Regions from separate parts of the Homo sapiens genome. Here region 1 is linked to region 2. The links are contacts of gene promoters, found by promoter capture Hi-C in blood cells and fetal thymus (Javierre and others, 2016). All regions are on one chromosome and are shown on one strand. Each heading gives the region's core, a stretch centred on a gene start or on the middle of the fragment in contact. The rest is flanking DNA. Distances are from core to core; before and after follow the strand shown. Region 1 overlaps MLH3 (mutL homolog 3). Region 2 holds the start of RPS6KL1 (ribosomal protein S6 kinase like 1).

Region 1 (2,700 bases), core at 101-2,600, 130 kb before region 2:
TGCCTGGCATTCTCACCATCTTTCTACCTACCATGATCAAGTGCTTGTCAGTTGAAGTACAAGCCAAATTGCGTTCTGGTTTGGCCATAAGCTCCTTGGGCCAATGTGTTGAGGAACTTGCCCTCAACAGTATTGATGCTGAAGCAAAATGTGTGGCTGTCAGGGTGAATATGGAAACCTTCCAAGTTCAAGTGATAGACAATGGATTTGGGATGGGGAGTGATGATGTAGAGAAAGTGGGAAATCGTTATTTCACCAGTAAATGCCACTCGGTACAGGACTTGGAGAATCCAAGGTTTTATGGTTTCCGAGGAGAGGCCTTGGCAAATATTGCTGACATGGCCAGTGCTGTGGAAATTTCGTCCAAGAAAAACAGGACAATGAAAACTTTTGTGAAACTGTTTCAGAGTGGAAAAGCCCTGAAAGCTTGTGAAGCTGATGTGACTAGAGCAAGCGCTGGGACTACTGTAACAGTGTATAACCTATTTTACCAGCTTCCTGTAAGGAGGAAATGCATGGACCCTAGACTGGAGTTTGAGAAGGTTAGGCAGAGAATAGAAGCTCTCTCACTCATGCACCCTTCCATTTCTTTCTCTTTGAGAAATGATGTTTCTGGTTCCATGGTTCTTCAGCTCCCTAAAACCAAAGACGTATGTTCCCGATTTTGTCAAATTTATGGATTGGGAAAGTCCCAAAAGCTAAGAGAAATAAGTTTTAAATATAAAGAGTTTGAGCTTAGTGGCTATATCAGCTCTGAAGCACATTACAACAAGAATATGCAGTTTTTGTTTGTGAACAAAAGACTAGTTTTAAGGACAAAGCTACATAAACTCATTGACTTTTTATTAAGGAAAGAAAGTATTATATGCAAGCCAAAGAATGGTCCCACCAGTAGGCAAATGAATTCAAGTCTTCGGCACCGGTCTACCCCAGAACTCTATGGCATATATGTAATTAATGTGCAGTGCCAATTCTGTGAGTATGATGTGTGCATGGAGCCAGCCAAAACTCTGATTGAATTTCAGAACTGGGACACTCTCTTGTTTTGCATTCAGGAAGGAGTGAAAATGTTTTTAAAGCAAGAAAAATTATTTGTGGAATTATCAGGTGAGGATATTAAGGAATTTAGTGAAGATAATGGTTTTAGTTTATTTGATGCTACTCTTCAGAAGCGTGTGACTTCCGATGAGAGGAGCAATTTCCAGGAAGCATGTAATAATATTTTAGATTCCTATGAGATGTTTAATTTGCAGTCAAAAGCTGTGAAAAGAAAAACTACTGCAGAAAACGTAAACACACAGAGTTCTAGGGATTCAGAAGCTACCAGAAAAAATACAAATGATGCATTTTTGTACATTTATGAATCAGGTGGTCCAGGCCATAGCAAAATGACAGAGCCATCTTTACAAAACAAAGACAGCTCTTGCTCAGAATCAAAGATGTTAGAACAAGAGACAATTGTAGCATCAGAAGCTGGAGAAAATGAGAAACATAAAAAATCTTTCCTGGAACATAGCTCTTTAGAAAATCCGTGTGGAACCAGTTTAGAAATGTTTTTAAGCCCTTTTCAGACACCATGTCACTTTGAGGAGAGTGGGCAGGATCTAGAAATATGGAAAGAAAGTACTACTGTTAATGGCATGGCTGCCAACATCTTGAAAAATAATAGAATTCAGAATCAACCAAAGAGATTTAAAGATGCTACTGAAGTGGGATGCCAGCCTCTGCCTTTTGCAACAACATTATGGGGAGTACATAGTGCTCAGACAGAGAAAGAGAAAAAAAAAGAATCTAGCAATTGTGGAAGAAGAAATGTTTTTAGTTATGGGCGAGTTAAATTATGTTCCACTGGCTTTATAACTCATGTAGTACAAAATGAAAAAACTAAATCAACTGAAACAGAACATTCATTTAAAAATTATGTTAGACCTGGTCCCACACGTGCCCAAGAAACATTTGGAAATAGAACACGTCATTCAGTTGAAACTCCAGACATCAAAGATTTAGCCAGCACTTTAAGTAAAGAATCTGGTCAATTGCCCAACAAAAAAAATTGCAGAACGAATATAAGTTATGGGCTAGAGAATGAACCTACAGCAACTTATACAATGTTTTCTGCTTTTCAGGAAGGTAGCAAAAAATCACAAACAGATTGCATATTATCTGATACATCCCCCTCTTTCCCCTGGTATAGACACGTTTCCAATGATAGTAGGAAAACAGATAAATTAATTGGTTTCTCCAAACCAATCGTCCGTAAGAAGCTAAGCTTGAGTTCACAGCTAGGATCTTTAGAGAAGTTTAAGAGGCAATATGGGAAGGTTGAAAATCCTCTGGATACAGAAGTAGAGGAAAGTAATGGAGTCACTACCAATCTCAGTCTTCAAGTTGAACCTGACATTCTGCTGAAGGACAAGAACCGCTTAGAGAACTCTGATGTTTGTAAAATCACTACTATGGAGCATAGTGATTCAGATAGTAGTTGTCAACCAGCAAGCCACATCCTTAACTCAGAGAAGTTTCCATTCTCCAAGGATGAAGATTGTTTAGAACAACAGATGCCTAGTTTGAGAGAAAGTCCTATGACCCTGAAGGAGTTATCTCTCTTTAATAGAAAACCTTTGGACCTTGAGAAGTCATCTGAATCACTAGCCTCTAAATTATCCAGACTGAAGGGTTCCGAAAGAGAAACTCAAACAA
Region 2 (2,700 bases), core at 3-2,502:
TAGGTAAAGAAGTGAGGCCTAGAGTGTATTTTGGTTTGTTTTCTTGTTTTGCTTTTAAGAGGGGAGAAACAAGCATTATGTTTGTATCAGGTGGGAATTATCTAGTGGGAGAGACGGGAGAATCGCTGGAGTGGTGTCGCTGAGTAGGTGATGGCACGGGACTGATGCCCACCTGGAAGGGTGGCCTTCGATGGGGCACAGACAGTCACCTGTGGAAAAAGGTTGGAAGCAGAGTGTGGGCACAGCCCCGCCCGCGGGCCAAGAGCAAGCCTGTGGGAGTCTGTGCGCCACTGCTGTCAAGGGAAGGATGAAGCAACAGTGCTGGCTGAGAGTGAGGATAGGGGGACGGGTGGGAGTCAGAGGGAGAAAGTATGAAAGGGTGTCTAAGGTAGAGCAAGTGCAGCCGGGGGACAGTGTGAAGCCAGTCAGCACTGAACCTGCAGGTGAGATCTGTGTCACAGGGTTGCCTGTGATCTGTTGCCCCATCACCCAGGCTGGAGTGCAGTGACACGATCTCGGCTCGCTGCAGCCTCAACCTCCCGAGCTCACTCCATCCTCCCACCTCAGCCTCCTGAGTAACTGGGACCACAGGCACACGCCACCATGCCCAGCTAAATTTTGTAATTTTTATAGAGATTGGGTCTACCTATGTTGCCCAGGCTGGTCTTGAACTCCTAGGTTCAAATGATCCTCCCGCCTCAGCCTTCCATAATGCAGAGATTACAGGCATGAGCCACCGCACCCGGCCTATGTCTTGAATTTTAAGCTCGGTTCTGATATCAAAAGCCTTCTATTGCTGGGTTCTTTACTCTCGGTAGCCCTCACTAGACTGTAAGCCCCATGCGGATGTAAACAGCGCTGTCTAGTTCACGGCTGTATCTCAACATCCAGCTCCTCATGCATGGGAGACTCTCAATACATAGCATTGAATCGTTGAATAAATGAATGAAGCAATGAATGAGAAAAGTCCTAGAAGTGGCACGTCTAGATTTCTGAAGCAGCCCCTTCCGCATCCCTGGATGATTCTAGACCTGCTCTCCCCACCCACCCCACATCCCATCCCACCCTCCCCTCTCTAAACCGCCCCCCGCCCCTCACAGCCCAGCCGTGCAGACCTTGCGGCTTTAAGGCCGGCAGGAGCCGAGCCGGGCGGTGATTGGTGGTTTATTCTAAGGCTCAAGTATGAGCTCATCCGCAGCCAATGGCCGCGCTGCACCGGCTGGCCCCGCACGCTGGATGCCGGAAAGCAGCGGCCCGCGGCGCGCTCTGGCGTGAAGGGCCGGTACGTGAGGGGGAGGCCTGGCCCGCGGACCCGGCTCCCAGCTCGGGCAGGTACGGTGTTTTGTCCGGTCCCTTCTCCACCCTCCCAGGCGAGGGGCCCCCTCGGCCGTCCCTCCACCCTGGGACCGTGCACCTTGCGGCTGGGGCCCCGTGGGTTGCACGCGCCGCTTTCTGTGTCCAGGCGGGGCCGGCGGCTCTGCCCGGCAGGACCCTGCCCGGCGGGGTGGACCCTGAAGCCAGTCCTACCCGGGCACCCCCCAGAGCAAGGCCTCAGAGCCTCAAGTTCCCCTGGGCTTGGCCGAGCAGGGATGGTGCGGCCTCCCTCTGCCTCCTGGCCGCATCCTGGCCGGGATTCAGCTCCCCGCCGGCTGAGGCTGTGGGTCTCCCTCCCCGCCCCACCGCCCATCCTGCTCTCTCCTCTTTCTCTCCAAATGACCTGGGGTTGGAAGTTCCGGGTCCTGCCCATTCCCAGTGGGACCTGGGAGAGCAAAGGCGGGGTAGCTTTGTGGGCCTCTCTCTGAGCCCCTTCCCTTCCCGCAGCCACGGCTGTCATCCCTTTGGCCGCCTGGGTCACACATTGCTCAGGAAGAAGCTGCTGTCAGGTCCTTGGAGGCCACATGACCTTCTCAAAAGTAAAGCCAGGAGGACAGAGCGACCCTCCCTGGGGCTGGGTCACCCTGCCCTCTTCTACCCCCCATCCAACGTGGCACCGAGTCTGCCACTCAGTCATTCCGTCTGCCAACAGTTCTTACAGCCCAGCTCTGTGCTCTGCTCTCTGCTGGCTCCAGGAGGGGTCCTCACTCGCTGACCACACTGACCTCAGGACCAAGGGAACAAAACACAGCAGGGGCAATCCATCCGGTCCACGGAGAAGTGCTAAACCCCAAAGGGTAAATGAGATTCCCACAGGAGGAGCAGGGAGGAGACAACAGGCAGGGTGGAGGGAACAGCATGAGGAACAGCATTTGAGCCCAGCGTGTGTGGCCTCCATGTGCTGAATGCGTACTGGATACCAAGCTTGCTCTACGGAGGCCCTGTGAAGGTGGCTGTGGATCACAGATATCCTCAGCTCTCTCCAGAGCTCAACACAGTACCAGATGCTCCAGAAATGTTTGCTGAACTGAATTTGACTGGAAAGGAAAACAGAGCCCCAGGCCTGCGCGGTGGCTCACGTCTATAATCCCAGCACTGTGGGAGGCCGAGGCAGACGGATCACTTGAGGTCAGGAGTTCAAGACCAGCCTGGCCAACATGGTAAAACCCCGTCTCTACTACAAATACAAAACATAGCCAGGTGTGGTAGGCAAGTGCCTGTAATCCCAGCTACTTGGGATGCTGAGGCAGGAGAATTGCTTGAACCTGGGAAGTGGAGGTTGCAGTGAGCCGAGATCGCACCACTGCAATCCAGCCTGGGTGACAT

The links. The method cuts DNA at HindIII sites, captures the fragments that hold promoters and counts their contacts. A CHiCAGO score of 5 or more calls a contact.
Region 1: a fragment that was not itself captured here is called in contact with the fragment with the promoter of RPS6KL1 in region 2 in 1 of 17 cell types (endothelial precursors); the score reaches 5.5 in endothelial precursors.

What each region holds. Positions count from the first base shown.
Region 1 is chr14:75,046,988-75,049,687 of GRCh38, reverse strand. MLH3 (mutL homolog 3) reads left to right here. Exons shown (of 13, transcript NM_001040108.2): 2 at 1-2,700. The coding sequence starts at 33. Among named protein-coding and RNA genes, the nearest start is that of MLH3, 3.1 kb to the left of the region's middle. The HindIII fragment of the contact is 1,843 bases long and covers 429-2,271 here.
Region 2 is chr14:74,921,812-74,924,511 of GRCh38, reverse strand. It overlaps RPS6KL1 (ribosomal protein S6 kinase like 1), which reads left to right and starts at 1,252. Exons shown (of 12, transcript NM_031464.5): 1 at 1,252-1,332; 2 at 2,027-2,534. RefSeq lists silencers at 1,027-1,086, 1,177-1,586 and enhancers at 957-1,727, 1,728-2,499. The HindIII fragment of the contact is 5,428 bases long and covers 1-2,300 here.